Linked DNA regions of Homo sapiens: regions 1, 3, 4, 5 and 6 are each linked to region 2. The links are contacts of gene promoters, found by promoter capture Hi-C in blood cells and fetal thymus (Javierre and others, 2016). All regions are on one chromosome and are shown on one strand. The core of a region is centred on a gene start or on the middle of the fragment in contact, and the rest is flanking DNA. Distances in the headings are between cores, read along the strand shown. Region 1 overlaps CHP1 (calcineurin like EF-hand protein 1). Region 2 holds the start of VPS18 (VPS18 core subunit of CORVET and HOPS complexes). Region 3 overlaps EXD1 (exonuclease 3'-5' domain containing 1). Region 4 overlaps NUSAP1 (nucleolar and spindle associated protein 1). Region 5 holds the start of KNL1 (kinetochore scaffold 1). Region 6 overlaps OIP5 (Opa interacting protein 5).

Evidence for each region. The method cuts DNA at HindIII sites, captures the fragments that hold promoters and counts their contacts. A CHiCAGO score of 5 or more calls a contact.
Region 1: a fragment that was not itself captured here is called in contact with the fragment with the promoter of VPS18 in region 2 in 2 of 17 cell types (erythroblasts and monocytes); the score reaches 5.3 in erythroblasts.
Region 3: a contact is called between a fragment that was not itself captured here and the fragment with the promoter of VPS18 in region 2, in 11 of 17 cell types (endothelial precursors, erythroblasts, megakaryocytes and 8 more). The highest score is 7.7, in endothelial precursors.
Region 4: a contact is called between a fragment that was not itself captured here and the fragment with the promoter of VPS18 in region 2, in 1 of 17 cell types (endothelial precursors). The highest score is 7.0, in endothelial precursors.
Region 5: the fragment with the promoter of KNL1 here is called in contact with the fragment with the promoter of VPS18 in region 2 in 1 of 17 cell types (M2 macrophages); the score reaches 6.3 in M2 macrophages.
Region 6: a contact is called between a fragment that was not itself captured here and the fragment with the promoter of VPS18 in region 2, in 5 of 17 cell types (total B cells, fetal thymus, naive CD4 T cells and 2 more). The highest score is 7.2, in total B cells.

What each region holds. Positions count from the first base shown.
Region 1 is chr15:41,258,173-41,260,872 of GRCh38, forward strand. All of the region lies in intron 3 of CHP1 (calcineurin like EF-hand protein 1), which reads left to right. Among named protein-coding and RNA genes, the nearest start is that of OIP5-AS1, 23 kb to the right of the region's middle. The HindIII fragment of the contact is 1,619 bases long and covers 558-2,176 here.
Region 2 is chr15:40,893,099-40,895,798 of GRCh38, forward strand. VPS18 (VPS18 core subunit of CORVET and HOPS complexes) reads left to right here and starts at 1,352. Exons shown (of 5, transcript NM_020857.3): 1 at 1,352-1,761. The coding sequence starts at 1,671. RefSeq lists a silencer at 1,068-1,237 and an enhancer at 2,078-2,167. The HindIII fragment of the contact is 16,460 bases long and covers 1-2,700 here.
Region 3 is chr15:41,225,390-41,228,089 of GRCh38, forward strand. EXD1 (exonuclease 3'-5' domain containing 1) reads right to left here. Exons shown (of 12, transcript NM_001286441.2): 2 at 1,054-1,239. The coding sequence starts at 1,186. Among named protein-coding and RNA genes, the nearest start is that of EXD1, 4.0 kb to the right of the region's middle. The HindIII fragment of the contact is 4,426 bases long and covers 1-2,700 here.
Region 4 is chr15:41,357,512-41,360,211 of GRCh38, forward strand. NUSAP1 (nucleolar and spindle associated protein 1) reads left to right here. Exons shown (of 11, transcript NM_016359.5): 6 at 638-747. Among named protein-coding and RNA genes, the nearest start is that of NUSAP1, 26 kb to the left of the region's middle. The HindIII fragment of the contact is 1,388 bases long and covers 647-2,034 here.
Region 5 is chr15:40,592,826-40,595,525 of GRCh38, forward strand. It overlaps KNL1 (kinetochore scaffold 1), which reads left to right and starts at 1,424. Exons shown (of 26, transcript NM_144508.5): 1 at 1,424-1,567. TRS-GCT4-2 (tRNA-Ser (anticodon GCT) 4-2) reads right to left here and starts at 1,081; the gene lies at 1,000-1,081. RefSeq lists a silencer at 974-1,023 and enhancers at 1,144-1,363, 1,584-1,903. The HindIII fragment of the contact is 4,787 bases long and covers 1-1,959 here.
Region 6 is chr15:41,327,586-41,330,285 of GRCh38, forward strand. The region is part of intron 2 of OIP5 (Opa interacting protein 5); the gene reads right to left. Among named protein-coding and RNA genes, the nearest start is that of OIP5, 3.7 kb to the right of the region's middle. The HindIII fragment of the contact is 6,952 bases long and covers 1-2,700 here.

The DNA of each region.
Region 1 (2,700 bases), core at 117-2,616, 370 kb after region 2:
TTGTGTATGTGTGTTCACATAATTGTATTTCTGAACTATTTCAGGGTAAGTTGCATAGTAATGACCCTTTACCTCTGAATGCACCAGTGTGTGTTTGCTAAGAATAGGGACATTCTTTTACATATCCATAGTATAGTTATCTACTTCAGTAAACTTAACATTGATACAATCCTCTTATCTAATCTATTACTCTGTTTTATTAACATATTATCCAGTTTATTCTAATTTATATTCATATTCCAATTTTGTCATCCAATAATCTGTTTTATAGCACTTCCCCGCCTCCAGTACAGGATCTAGTCTGGGTCAGTTGTCATGTCTCTTTAGCCTCCTTTAATCTGGAACATTTCCCCAGCCTTTATTTTACTTTCGTGATATTGAATAAACATAGTTCTCACCACATATGCTTTGTCAAGTAGATTGTTCTTAATGTGGGTTTTTCTAACATGAAACTAGTCTTTTGATATGCTTTACTACCTAATACACTGCCTTCACAGTAGTGAGTAAATATTTACTGATTTGATTAGGTACCTTTTCAACAATAAAACTTACATATAAGCTTGTTTTAAGTAATTTCCTAAACAATCTATTCCTGGTTTATATGGATAGTCTATGACCCACAGGACTTCAAAATATTATATGGGTGCCAGTTTTTAATAATGAGACTGTCAATGAGGACACTGTCAGATAAAATGCCTGGAGAGGAAATTTTAGAACTCTAAATTGAGAGCAAAGGAATTTGCTAGTTGAGAGGGTTGGGCATTCAGGAAATGTGAGTGAAAGTCAGAAGGGGAATTAGGTCGGGCAGTTAGTTCATGTAAAGATGGGAATCAAATCACGTTGACTATGAGGAATCTTATGCCCTCTTTCATTTTTTCCTTTCTCTCTCCTTGAACTGCCCTGTTTGTTTCAGGTGTGGTTTTTATGCTGAATTCTTCCTTTTTTCTAATTCCTCTTTTACCCCTGCAAAGCATTGAACCCTATCCAGAGATAACTTTCACAGCTATGCTTTGTATCCAAACCTTTTGCAATGAAAAGTAAACCCAGGAGAGTCACTTTGCCAACTTTTTTTCAGAATTCCTTAGTCACCATTGATTACTTGAAGAAGCAGCTTGTGGGAAGCTGTTTTGTAAGACTAAACTACATTTGCTGTGACTACAATATCACCTGTCATTCTGTCCACCAATCTACTGCTAAGGAAATGGGACAGAGTGCATATGAGGAAGTGGAGGGCTCTACTGGGCTGCACTGCTTAGCTCTTAGCAAGCTGCGACTCTGCTTCTTGCTCTAATCAGATAGATATATTTGGCTTCTGGGTTTTTCTTTCTTCCCTAGGCATATGCACATTGGGGCTTTTTTTTTTTTTTTTTTAAAGAATGAGATTTGAAAGTGGACCATGGTTATTCAATTCCCTTTTACCCAGAAACTTTATGCTAGCAATAATCATTAATGTGTTTTTTCTAGCATATGTTTTAAACTTTACTCCACATTACTTGATTCCTCAGATCTGACATTTTTGACCAGATACTGGTCCATTAGCAGTATAGATACATCGAAGAACTAAAAGGTCATTCTTTTGTTTTGTTTTTTGTTTTTTTGAGACGGAGTCTCCCTCTGTCTCCCAGGCTGGCATGCAGTGGTGTGATCTTGGCTCACCGCAACCTCTGCCTCCTGGGTTCGAGTGATTCTCCTGCCTCAGCCTCCCCAAGTAGCTGGGACTACAGGCTCACGCCACCACGCCTGGCTAAGGTTTCACCACGTTGGCCAGGCTGGTTTTGAACTCTTGACCTCAGGTGATCCGCCCGCCCCGGCCTCCCAGAGTGCTGGGATTATGGGCGTGAGCCACTGCACCCAGCCAAGGTCATTCTTTTGAGTACAGATGGCTCACAGGCTAGCCTTTGAACTCTGCCTTTAGAAGGGCTATGAACTGCATGTCTATAGAGCACAGAAGAGAACCTACATACCTCAGCTATTCGGTGGGGCACAGAAAGGCTGGGGTTTTTTTTTTTTTTAGGTAACCACAGGAACCAGGCCATCTGCCTTAGATAAATAAATTATATTATGTTACATGGGGCATTCTTTTTTAATATTAAAGAACATTCTTCATTCAAGTTTTGAGAATTATTTCTTACAGGGTTATTGATTAGCCTGTGGCACAATGAAAAGATTTTCTCCAAGCTTAAGTACCAAAAAGGCTTTATACACAAGAGGTCTTTCAAAACTTTTTTTTTTTTTTTTTTGAGATGGAGTCTCCCTCTGTCACCCAGGCTGGAGTGCAGTGGTGCAGTCTCGACTCATTGCACCCTCCATCTTTGGGGTTCAAGTGATTCTCCTGCCTCAGGCTCTCAAGTAGCTGGGATTACAGGCATGCACCACCAGGCCCAGCTAATTTTTGTATTTTTAGTAGAGACGGGGTTTCACCATGTTGGCCAGGCTGGTCTTGAACTCCTGACCTCAGGTGATCCACCCACCTTGGCCTCTTGAAGTGCTGGGATTATAGACGTGAGCCACTGTGCCTGGCCTAAAAGATTATTTAGAGAAAAATTATCCAATTATGAGGGAATAATAAAATCATGATGTGTCCACAGAATTATGCATATGTTTTAAATGTTTCAAAGTATTTATATTGATTGGAGAAATGCTTAAAAGTTAAAAAAAAAGGCAGGATACTAATACAGTTATCTGAAAAGCATAGAAAAG
Region 2 (2,700 bases), core at 102-2,601:
TGAGCCTGGACAGCATACTTGTCACCTGCCCCAGGACTAGTGCCCCTCCAAGCCAGAGAGCCCAGATAGCCCTCAGTGGGGCTGGTGAGAGTCACAGTTCTCCGCACGTGGCCAGGAAGTTGAGCAAGAGTAACCCAACCACATAAGGTATGGTGCAAACCTGGAAACTTCTGAGAGCAAAGGGATGCTCTTAGTTGTTAGGCGGGGGCCGCCCAGCAGAGCCAGGACGGTGGCGACCCTAGTCCAGAGCCTTCCACTTTAGCAAGGTAGAATCCAAGGGCCCCAGAAGGGAACAGACTCCATCTGGGTCGCCTAAGCAGGTGAGAGAGGAAAACCCAACCACAGTCGCGCCCCAGCCCTCGCAGGTCCCTGGCTGAGGACTCCCCTCTCCACCTCAGGCTGGGCGGCCCCCGCCTTCACGCTTGCTCCCACTTGTCCCTCGTTCTTGCTAGGCTTGGCAGGTATTTGTTCCCTGCTCCTTCACGCTCTCAGTGCCGTGGCCACGTCGCTGGGTACGCCCCACCAGGCAAGAGACATTTTCCGTCTTGTTCTCTGCCACGTCCCCAGAGCCTGGAACAGTGCTTGGCACAGAGTGGACGCTCATTCGTGGAGTAAGTGCCTGATGGATAATCCATCACTTGCTTTTCTAGTATGAATGGTCTATTTACGGGTCCAGCGCCCCTGCTGGCTTACGACCTTTTCCAGGGCGGGGAGGGGCTGTCCTCATCTCTGTGACCCCAGCGCCCAGCCCAAGGCCTGGCACAGAGTAAGTGCTCAACCACATTTTGGTGAATGAGTGAATGGAAGCGGCCCAGCAACCCTGAGCCAAGGAGCCACTGTGGGGCAGGTCAGGGCGGTTCCTGGCACAGGGCTTCCCACTAGCCTGGCCACCAGCTCTGCGGTCTCCTGGAAGCTGGGGGGCCTTTGGGTAAGGGAGAAGAGTGGCCAGGAGTTGTCTGCGTGTGCCCTGTGACGGTGGGATAGAGACAGCGATTGGATTGAGGAACGGGAGGTTCCCCGAGGCTGTTTAGAGAGGCGGGAGCGGGAGCTGGTCAGGGAGGCTGGACAGACCACCCGAGGGAGCGGAGCTTGGGCACGAAAGCCAAAACTGGGCGGCGCGGGGCGGGTGGGGAAGGCCGGCTGAGAAAGCCGGGATTGCCTCCTGGTGTCAAAGCTCGGAACTGCAGCAGGATCCTGGGGGCGGGGCTTGTGTTCAGCAGCACTCGCCACGCGCCCAGCCCTCAGCCCTCGTCTCGCCTTCTGCTGGCTGGCCCGGCGACGTTGTGCGCCAGCGTACGCGGGGCTCTGAGAACCCGGAAGTTACGTTTTAGGCCCGCGTCACGGGGGCGGGAGTCAGCTGAGCTGCCGGGGCGAGGTTGGGATCACCTGGCACCGGCTGAAGGGAGCCTGTGATTTTTTTGTAGCGGGGGCGGGGAGTAAGGTGCAAGACTGCGCCAGATTCAAGGACGAGGGCTGCCCGATTATCTCGCTGCATAAGGCAAGAGCAAGAGGATCCTCAGGATTTTAAAGAGGAGGCGACGGCTGCAGGTTCCCAGGATCTGTCAGAGGCTGGGGAGTTACAGCTTCCATTCTGGGGCGACGGGGACCCCGGGGGGGTAGCCCTTTTGTAATCCCCAGGCCCCGGACAAAGAGCCCAGAGGCCGGGCACCATGGCGTCCATCCTGGATGAGTACGAGAACTCGCTGTCCCGCTCGGCCGTCTTGCAGCCCGGCTGCCCTAGCGTGGGCATCCCCCACTCGGGTAAGGAAGAGGAGGGTGCCGCTGCCCCTTTCGGCTCTCCTAGCATTTGCGTGGGAGCAGCGAGGAGGGCAGCTCCAAGAGCTCGGGGTCATCCCCTGGGCCGTGCCTTCCGGGTCTAGGCCCCTGATTCTCCTCAGGCTCTCTTGGCCCCCAGCTGGTGGATAGTCGAAGTTTGAAAGAGCAACGGGAGCTGCCGCGTGATCTAGGCTCTACCGCTAGGGTCCTTTTGAGAGGGAATTGGGGCCCAGATAAGGAATTACTCACCTACAGGGCGCAGTTGGGCTGTTGGGAGAACTTAGAATGGGCTCCCGGCTTCTGCTGATGCTTTTCCCACCAGGCCCCTTCTGGAGGTGGGAGGGAAGGAATGGACAAAGAAAGTGGTGAAGGCGGAGTATTGCAGAGGAAGAAGGGAGGGTCCCAGAGGGAATTTTGTCGCTGAACGGGGAAAATGGAGATGAAATCTTTTTGGCCTTGGCTATAGCTGGGTGCAGCCTGGAGTTTGGGGACGTTTTTGTAGAAAGTAGTGAGTCTCCAGGAGAATGAGGGCATAGGGAGCCCTGGGGAACTGTTCCAGTGAGTGGAGTTAACGAATTGGAGCTGCTTTCACTCTAGTCTTTACCTTCATTCAATGCTCAAAATATCCCAGCACTTGCCAACTCTACACTGAGGCTCATTACCGCATGGGCAGGGAGGGGGGCAGAGAATGGGGCTATACTACTTCAGTTAAGCTGGGATTGCTGGGCCAAAGACCTGATAAGGGAGAATACCCAGACCACCAGTCCCGTCCCACCTCCACGCAGCCCCATTACCAGTGGGAGCAGGTATATCATGCTGTGACAGCATCTTAAGGGTTCAAAGAATCAACCCCTCACTGCTGTCAGAGTGTGGAAAGAGCTCCAGACCTCTATTGTAAAGGTGACCAGCAAACGACTTGATATC
Region 3 (2,700 bases), core at 77-2,576, 330 kb after region 2:
GCCTGGCCAACACAGTGAAACTCTGCCACTACTAAAAATACAAAAATTAGCCAGACTTGGTGATGGGTGCCTGTAACCCCAGCTACTTGGGAGGCTGAGGCAGGAGACTTGCTTGAACCTGGGAGGCAGAGGTTGCAGTGAGCCAAGATCGCGCCACTGCACTCTAGCCTGGGCAACAAGAACGAGACTCATTCTCAGAAAAAAAAAAAAAGGCCGGGAGCGGTGGCTCATGCCTATAATCCCAGCACTTTGGGGGACCGAGGTGGGTGGATCACCTGAGGTCCGGAGTTTGAGACCAGCCTGGCCAACAGGCTGTGTTTTTGTATTTTTTGTACTAAAAATACAAAAATTAGATAGGCATGGTGGTGTGTGCCCGTAATTCCAGCCACTCGGGAGGCTGAGGCAGGAGAATCACTTGAACTTGGGAGGCGGAGGTTGCGGTGAGCTATCACGCCACTGCACTCCAGCCTGGGGGATGGAGCAAGACAACATCTCAAAAAACAAAACAAAACAAAACAAAACAAAAAAAACCTTTTTATATTGAAAATTCCTGCTATCATATCAAAAGCAGGGACACACCAGGCTCGGCATGGTGGCTCACACCTGTAATCGCAGAACTTTGGGAGGCCAAGGCAGGCGGATCACGAGGTCAGGAGATCGAGACCATCCTGGCTAACACGGTGAAACCCTGTCTCTACTAAAAATACAAAAAATTTGCTGGGAGTGGTGGCGGGTGTCTGTAGTCCCAGCTACTCGGGAGGCTGAGGCAGGAGAATGGTGTGAACCCGGGAGGCAGAGCTTGCAGTGAGCCATGATCACGCCACTGCACTCCAGCCTGGGCAACAGAGCGAGACTCCATCTCAAAAAAAAAAAGTAGGGACAAACCAGCATATTCAGTCACATTGTTCTGTTTGGGAAAACAATATTCTAACCTTCCTCCCACACTTTACCTAAAATAGGAATAATGCCACCCTCCCAATCACTAATGGAGCCCACTGAAAGTCAATCACTAATCTCTTAAAAGGCAGAACATTATAAGAAATAGAACAAGACCTTTCTTCAGGACAACAATCTTATTAGGGTCAACATGCTGAAGCACACCCTCGAAGACACCACAGACCAATGTGAGTTTCACCCTCTTCCACAAAATCTGGCTGAGGAAATGGTAGTCACTGCTGGGGTCCATGCTAATTGATTCCAAAAGCCGTCTTCAAATAATCTTCTTTAAGCATCCAAACACTTGAAAATTAATAAAGAGATCTATGAATTTTAAAAGATTTTTTGGGAGTAAAGTTATTTTCCCTTTCCCCATATCTGTAATGGACAAGAATAAAATCTGAATAATTCAGTTTTGTTCATCTTTTTGGAATGATGAGAAAAGGATCATTGCAAGCACCAACTCTCATACATAGGAAACTGAAAACTATAAGAAATTGGGCAAGTTAGGCTTGGCTTCTTTGTTTATAAAATGGGCATGATATCATCTTTCCTTCCTTAGCTAAATGGAAGAAGCAGAACATTTAGAGGCTTTTTAATGGCACATTTATACATCATTATAACAAAAAAATGAAAAGAGCAAATGAAAAAAATTGACATACATAGAAATATTTGCCAATACATGTTGCAATAAATTGTTTAGGGCAGCATAACTACCTGAGCTGCTATTTTTTATAACTCTGGTTGAGAATTTAAGGGCATGGTAATTTTTGCTAAAACTGAAGCTGATAATTTTAAGTAAAGCAACTAAATTTACCCTTTACTTAGGAATTAAAGGAAATCAAGGCAAGTAGGACAATAGTGGTACATTGGGAAAAGAACTTTTCTTTCAACTTGTGTTTAATGAATTGAATTTTAGAGACAGTTTCCCATAACTTGGGTCTATGCTATCCTATTAATTTTTATGTCTAGGTACTTGAAATGTTCCATTTCTGTGTATTTTTTTATTTTCTGTCCTATGACAGTTCTACGCTAAAGGTATTTTAAAATAAAAGCCAAATTGGCCGGGCGCAGTGGCTCATGCCTGTAATCCCACCACTTTGGGAGGCCGAGGTGGGCAGATAATCTGAGGTCGGGAGTTCCAGACCAGCCTGACCAACATGGAGAAACCCTGTCTTTACTAAAAATACAAAATTAGCCGGGTGTGGTGGCGTATGCCTGTAATCCCAGCTATTCAGGAAGGCTGAGGCAGGAGAATCACTTGAACCCGGGAGGCAGAGGTTGCAGTGAGCCGAGATTTAGAGATCGCGCCACTGTACTCCAGCCTGTGCGACAGAGCAACACTGTCTCAAAAAAAAAAAAAAAAAGAATTACAACCATATAGAAATGTACAAAGTAAAGAAAAAATGTACTAAGAAATATTATTCATAGTGGGTACTCACCACTGGGTGCAGTGGCTTATGCCAGTAATCCTAGCACTTTAGGAGGCCAAGACAGGCAGATCACCTGAGGTCAGGAGTTCGAGACCAGCCTGACCAACATGGTGAAACCCCGTCTCTACTAAAAACACAAAAATTAGCCAGCTGTAGTGACGCACACCTGTAATCCTAGCTACTCAGGAGGCTGAGGCAGGAGAATCACTTGAACCCAGGAGGTGGAGGTTGCAGTGAGCCAAGATCGCGCCATTGCACTCCAGCCTGGGAGACAAGAGTGAAACTCTGTCTCAAAAAACAAAACAAAACAAAAGAAGGCGGTACTCTTACA
Region 4 (2,700 bases), core at 91-2,590, 460 kb after region 2:
AGGCTCACTGCAACCTCCACCTCCCGGGTTCAAGCGATTCTCCTGCCTCAGTGTCCCGAGTAGCTGGGATTACAGGCGTGCGCCACCACACCTGGCTAATTTTTGTATTTTTAGTAGAGATGGGGTTTCTCCATGTTGGTCAGGCTGGTCTCGAACTCCTGACCTCAGGTGATCTGACCGCTTTGGCTTCCCAAAGTGCTGAGATTACAGGTGTTGAGCCACCATGACCAGCCAAGTCTTAAATACTTTTATCTAGCCCTTTATAGAATAAATTTGTCAGTCCTTGACATACAGCATTATAAAATATCAAATTCATTATTAAATAAAGACCACTTGTGACTAATTGGTAGGGGAGAAGATAAATCTTCTACTCTAATCCTCTGGATTAAACCAAGATGTCAATTTAGTGAAATTTGTCAGTGGGGAGATGGTGAATGTTTGATAGTTTATAAGATGAATGTGCTTTGCCCCTGAGTTTCCAAAAACTAAGTATTTTGAAATTAATGTTTTAGCAAAAATTATATTGAAGTTGAATGTCAGGGATGCAAAGAAGAGAATAAGTGTTAACAGAAAAACACAGAGAAGATAAATAAATGGATTTTGTTTTGTTATTAATTTTTATATTGGAACATTCTAGACTTTAAGAAGCTTCATGAAGCTCATTTTAAGGAAATGGAGTCCATTGATCAATATATTGAGAGAAAAAAGAAACATTTTGAAGAACACAATTCCATGAATGAACTGAAGGTATGTAGATAAAATTATGTTCTTAATGGAACTAAACTGTTTGATTATAATTTTGAAACTATATAACACCGTGGTTACAACAACTGGCTGTCACTCTACCAGTAGATTTGTTTGAATTTAATATATCTTTATCTAAAACTTGCTTTCCCCTACCCTGAGAATTTTCAAAGTCCTCTAGATAAAACAGTGAATCCATGGCCAAGCGCAGTGGCTCATGCCTGTAATCCCCGCACTTTGGGAGGCCAAGGCAAGTGGATTACCTCAGGTCAGGAGTTCAAGGCCAGCCTGGGCAACATGGTGAAACCCTGTCTCTACAAAAAATACAGAAAATTAGTAGGGGGTGGCACATGGCTGTAATCCCATCTACTCAGGAGGCTGAGGCAGGAGAATCACTTGAACCAGGAGGCCAACATTGCAGTGAGCTGAGATCGCGCCACTGCACTCCAGCCTGGGTGACAGAGTGAGACTCCGTCTCAAAAAAAAAGAAAACAGTGAATCCTGACTATGAGAAACTATTTCCAAAATGGCAATGTCATTCTACTTTCCATATTCAGATGTTTTGCCTATTACTTTCATTGATGATGAACCAACTTATGGCTGAAGCCATCTTCTTTCCCTCGTCCCTTATGTAAAGGAAAATGGGTGATTAATAGTGGCAAACCTGAAGGGTTCCTGTGGTAACAGCTCCCTCGAGGGCTTTCAGTCCAGGTTCCACAGGACTCAAAGCCTCCTCAAGTAAGAGAAGGTGATAAAGTCAACTCTGAGGCTGAGTTAGCAAAGTAGTGAGTAACATTCTAGCAAGTTGATGTTATTGGTATCTGGTGTTAAGGCAGTGCCGAATGGAGGGCAGGAAACACATTTTTAAATATTTATGGATTTATGTATTTTTCTCATAAAGACAGGGTCTCCCTATGATTCCCAGGCTCTCCTTGAACGCCTAGGCTCAAGTGATCCTCCCACCTCAGCCTCCCAAAGTGCTGGGATTACAGGTGTGAGCCACCAGATTATATTTATTTCTATTCGCTGTATTTAATTCTTAACCCCATGTTTATTTTACATAACTTCCCTATTTCTCAAAAAGAATTTAAGGCCTATTCTCAAAATAATGTAAGTTTATGGTATTAAATATAAAATAGTATAGTCAATTTAAAAGCGGCAGAAAATTAGCACTGTTAGTAGGTACAGTATTTACTACCATCAGTCACTCAGCTGAGTTTAAGTTTTCTGGCAGCTAGGGCCAAGAGGAAAACTCACTGGGTGATAAATTGTAAATAATTTAAGTACTTAAGCTTCTTGGTGAGAAGCTTAATTGAAATAATAAACATTCATTTTAACGATGTAAAACCACTGTTACAACCATTTTTTTTCTTTTCTTTTCTTTTTTTTTTTTGAGACAGAGTTTCGCTCTTGTTGCCCAGACTGGAGGGCAATGGTACAGTCTCAGCTCACTGCAACCTCTGCCTCCCTGATTCAAGTGATTTTCCTGCCTTTAGCCTCCCCAGTAGCTGAGATTACAGGCGCCCACCACCACACCCAGCTAATTTTTTTATTTTTAGTAGAGACGGGTTTTCACCATGTTGGCCAGGCTGGTCTTGAACTCCTGACCTCAGGTGATCAACCCACCTCCCAAAGTGCTGGTATTACATGCATGAGCCATTGCTCCCATCCTCACTGTTACCACATTTGAAGGCACTGTTTGTCAAACTTTTTTTTTTTTTGAGACTCAGTCTCACTCTGTCACCCAGGCTGGAGTGCAATGGTGCGATCTTGCCTCACTGGAACCTCTGCTTCCCGGATGCAGCAGATTATTTTGCCTCAGCCTCCCAAGTAGTTGGGATTACAGGTGCCCACCACCACACCCAGCTAATATTTGTATTTGTAATTTTATTTATTTTTTTTAGATGGAGTCACATTGTGTTGCCCAGGCTGGAGTGCAGTGACACAATATTGGCT
Region 5 (2,700 bases), core at 174-2,673, 300 kb before region 2:
GCTAAGGAAGGGTGACTCAATGTCCTGAGCCCAAGGAGGTATCAACATTCCCAACGGATTTGGATCTGTAACAGAAAGAAGCCACTGGAGCCAGCAGAGAATGGGGCCACTGCTTTCCATACTCAGTGCCCAAACCTTGCTGAAGCACCTGCCAGAGGCCGTGTTGTGGAGCATGGTGCAATGCAGACAGCCTTGTGGAGGAGACAATCTGTAAACCATGACTGCAAAAGATTGATAAATACTGATTATTAATCTACAGCACAGTGTAGGATTGATAAATACTAATTATTAATCTACAGCACAGATTAGAAGGGTGATTAAGCCAGCGTCTAGTAGATTTGGGTTACACTCTCCTTTCTTCAATTTAGAAGCTGTATAACCTCGGGCAAGCTAATCTTTCAGTCTCCTCATCTGTAAAATGGAGTAATAAAAATATTTGTCATGATCAAGGGTTATAGTGATGTAATTCATGTAAAACATGTGGTGCCTGTAGATAATAAATACCGGATAAAGTGTCTCATGGTAGCTTTTGAAGTGAAACCTGGTATCTCATAATCAGGACAGGTGTTAAAAACCCCAGAGTAACAGTCTACAATAATTGAAACTCCTCAGTTAGGAGCTGTGTTAAAGTTGGAACAGAGCAGCATTGGAACATATGGGATGGTAATAATTGTGGAATTCTATTCACTGTTGTTAACTCCATATAAAAAGAAATTAAATCCAGCATGATTTCTGATTCCTGGAAAGTCTCTTTCCCTCCCTTTTCTTTATCTGTGATGTCAGAACGTTCCAAATACTGTATTTCAACATTTCAGGCCTGAAACTGATGGTGCCAGATTAATTGAGTAATAAATAATAAGTATTCAAGTTTTTCCGCTCTGCAAATTTACTTTGGTTATTAAAAAATTTATTCTGCTCTGCAAATTTACTTTGGTTATTAAAAAATTTATTCTGCTCTGCAAATTTACTTTGGTTACAAGCAAAAGTAAGCCACCACATCGACGAGGATGGGATTCGAACCCACGCGTGCAGAGCACAATGGATTAGCAGTCCATCGCCTTAACCACTCGGCCACCTCGTCCCGGTAAGTTACTGTTTCCTGATTGCTATAGGGAGTAATATCAAGGGGCTGTGACGCAATGTTATGGAAGCCGCCATTTTGTACGGAAGCCAAAGTCCAATCACTTCCATAGCAAGCAATCGAAAGAAGATGGCCGCTCCCACGATTGTGGGGGAGGTCTCCACTGGGGAGGGGCAGAGGAAATTCGGTCGAAAAAGAGATAAAGCTGAAGGAAATAAAATTGGCACGGAGTCTGGGAAAGTAGTTTCCCTAAAGGAGTCTTAGAAATAGGGTTGGTCTGGAACCTAAGGGGCGGAGCCGACGCGTAGAGCCGCTTTGCGCGTGCGCATCACCTAGGCGGTTAGATTTGAATACTTCACTGAGGCGAGCCGGGCGTTGTGAGCGGACTGCTAGAGGCGGCTGTCTGTTTCCGCTCTAAGGAAACTCAGAGCGTGTGGACCCCAAACAAGTCTGCGCAAAATTTGTCGAGGAGGTTTGCCGCGGCAGGTAAAGAGAATGACTCTTTCGTTCTGGGCTTCAGGGAAGGCTTCGGGTTTTGTCTGGGCGCCCTGAAGTTCCTGCGGTGGGAGGTAGGGTACGCTCCCTCAGCCTGGCGGCCTCCGTTAGCGCCGGGCCGAGTAGACGCCCCTGCCCCGGGCCGGGCACACTGTGCCCTTTTTCCCCTCCTCGGCCTGTACGTTGTGCCGCCTCCCGCTTCCCTAACACTTCTCCGCCTGCACCTCGGCCCCTCCGGCCACCCGGCTCGGGTTGCTTGTCCGTCGCTCTCTTGGCGTCCTCTTCCGCCCCGCCCTGCCGTCCTCTGTCAGGGCTCGCGGACTCTTCTTGCACCCCTGCCGCTCTTCCCTAGGGACCTCTCGGCTGTTTGTATTTCTCACTTAAGCTTTTTTTGGCTCTAAATGAAGTGACAGCAATGAGTGATTTTAAAATTCTCAGCTCTTCGTGGTTTAAGGTGTCTGCTCGGAGTGCTGGCCGCACGTAACAGATTTTTCGTTTTCTGCAAGTATAATAACCTTAACAAATGAAGTCAATATTAGTACTGCGCAAATTAGTTTTTAAAAATCCTCTTCTGTTCATTATTCCTCAGGATTTAAGCCCTTATTCTTCACGTTTATTTAAATACTCAAGTTTGAGGGAGGAAAAAGTATTGCCGATTGGAATTTTACAGATAGGTTTAATAGGCATTAACAGATAAAGGATGTGGATGAAGACCAAAGCAGAAGCTTATTCCAGTCTAGATATTAAAATTGATGTTTTCACTTCCGTCGAATCCTGTAGATATTTATTGGGTTCCTTATCCTGTGATAGGGCCGGGGACAGATGATTCCCAAACCTAGAGGGGTTTACAAAGGGAAATAACTAATATACACAAATAACTAGAATACAAGACAGAATGTAAAAGATTATAGGACATTCTAAAGTGGTGTGGGAGCACGGAAAAGGGAGAGCTTATTTGATGCTTTTGGTGATGGATTTGTGGAGAAGACCGCATTTGAGGTGGACGTTGGTTGGAGAGATGATTTACAGATGGGAGTTAATATGTGGTAAAATTTTGGTAATTAAAGGTTAGGGTCAAAGCAGTATAATTCTTGACTTTGCGAATGGCTGGAAATCTTTACAAG
Region 6 (2,700 bases), core at 158-2,657, 430 kb after region 2:
AAGACCATCCTGGCCAACATGGTGAAACCCCGTCTCTACTAAAATACATAAAATTAGCCAGATGTGGTGGCATGCACCTGTAGTCCCAGTTACTCGGGAGGCTGAGGCAGGGGAATCACTTGAACCCGGGAGGCGGAGTTTGCAGTGAGCCAAGATCCTGCCACTGCACTTCAGCCTGGGCTACAGAGCAAGACTCCATCTCAAAAAAATAAAAAATAAAATAAAATAATTGAAAAGAAAGGCTGAGTGCAGTGGCTCATGCTTGTAATGCCAGCACTTTGGGAAGCAAAGGTGGGCAGATCACTTGAGTTCAGGAGTTCAAAACCAGCCTGGGCAACATGTTGAAACCCTATCTCTACAACAAATTAGCTGGGCATGGTGGTGCATGCCTTATAGTCCTAGCTACTTGGGAGGCTGAGGTGAAAGGATGGCTTGAGCCTGGGAGGCGGAGGTTGTTCTCCATCCTGGGTAAAAGAGCCAGACTCCATCTCAAAAAATAAATAAATAGAAAAAAGTTTCTTATAAAGATCCTTACCAAAATATTTATGGATGGAATGATGTAATTTCAGGTATCTGCTTCAAAACATTGTGGAGGATAGATATTTTGTTTTGTTTTAGAGATGAAGTCTCGCTATGTTGCTCATGATGGTCTTGAACTCCTGGGTTCAAGTGATCCTCCCACCTTGGCCTCCAAAAGTGTTGGGATTACAGGCGTGAGCCAGCATGATAAGCCAACTATGATTTTAGATGAAACAAGATTGGCCAAGAGTTGATAAGTGCTCTAGTTTAGTGACAGGTAGACAGAGGTTCATTATATTCTTCTCTCGGGTTTGAATTTGCCATAACAATTAGAAAAAAATGTACTTCACTTATAATACAAACAAAATTCCATTTAAATATGCTGTTGAGCACAACAAAAGCTCAGGGTAAAAAAGCTATTTCTAAGTGTCAACATACTATAATAATCCTTTTTAAAATTAGTTACAATAAATCCTCTACCAGTAAGAGAACAATAAAATGTAGACGGAAGTAACCTTGTATCTGTCTACTTTATGACTTTGAATCTAAGAGGTTCATGCCAATTGTAGAATGTTTAAATAAATGTCGGAGGGAGTATATTTTAGGAGTATTCAAATATGACAGATTGAGAGGGATCAATTTATTTCACATGCCTCATTAAGAGTAAAGTTAAGGCCTGGTGCGGTGGCTCACACCTGTAATCCCAGCACTTTGGGAGGCTGAGGCAGGTGGATCACAAGGTCAGAAGTTCGAGACCAGCATGGCCAACATGGTGAAACCCCGTCTCTACTAAAAATATAAAAATACAAAAATTAGCCAGGCATAGTGGCGTGCGCCTGGAATCCCAGCTACTCGGGAGGCTGAGGTAGGAGAATAGCTTGAACCCGGGAGGCGGAGGTTGCAGCGAGCCAAGATCCCGCCACTGTGCTCCAGCCTGGGTCAGAGCAAGACTCCATCTCAAAAAAAAAAAAAAAAAAAAAAAAAAAAGAATAAAAAGAACCCGAGTCTGCTGTCTCTAAAATTTATGCTCTTTTAGCTGCATCATTAATCATCCTCTTAATTCATTCTCTGACCCCATCTAGGTAATGAACCTACACTTAGAAAAAAATCAAGTTGTCTTGAGCTGTGCCATTTCATAACCCTCTTCGTAAGTCCCATATAGCTCATCTTACTCCACAAATACAGAAACACATGGGGCTTTCCCTCTAGTTTTTTTTTTTTTTTTTTTTCAGACGGAGTCTCGATCTGTCGTCCAGGCTGGAGTGTAGTGGTGCGATCTTGGCTCACTGCAACCTCTGCTTCCCAGGTTCAAGCCATTCTCCTGCCTCAGCCTCCCAAGTAGCTGGGACTATAGGCGCTTGCCACCTCGCCCCCCTAATTTTTGTACTTTTAGTAGAGACGTGGTTTCACCATACTGGCCAGGCTGGTCCCGAACTCCCGACCTTGTGATCTGCCTGCCTTGGCCTCCCAAAGTGCTGGGATTATAGGTGTAAGCCACTGCACCTGGCCTTCCTCCAGTTTTTTACAAAGCATCTAAACAAGCATTGTCTAATAGGAATATAATGTGAGTCACATATGTAATTTTAAATTTTCTATTCATTTTGCTTTTTTTTTTGAGGAAGAGTCTCGCTCTGTTGCCCAGGCTGGAGTACAGTGGGATGATCTTGGCTCACTGCAACCCCCGCCTACCAGATTCAAGCAATTCTCTGCCTCAGTCTCCCAAGTAGCTGGGATTACAGGCGCCCGCCACCACGCCCAGCTAATTTTTGTATTTCTAGTAGAAACAGTTTCACTATCTTGGCTAGGCTGGTCTTGAACTCCTGACCTCGTGATCCATCCGCCTTGGCCTCCCAAAGTGCTGGGATTACATGCATCAGCCACGGCGCCTGGCCTAATTTTGCTTTAAAAAATAAAATAAAAACAGGTGAAATTAGTTTTTAAATATTTTATTTAACCCAATATATCAAAAATGTCATTTCACCATGTAATCAATTTTTTTTTTTAAGACAGAGTTTCGCTCTCGTTGCCCAGGCTGGAGTGCAATGGCGTGAACTCGGCTCACCACAACCTCCACCTCCCGGGTTCAAGCGATTCTCCCTCCTCAGCCTCCTGGGATTACAGCCTAGCTGGGATTACAGGCATGTGCCACCATGCCCGGCTAATTTTGTATTTTTAGTAGAG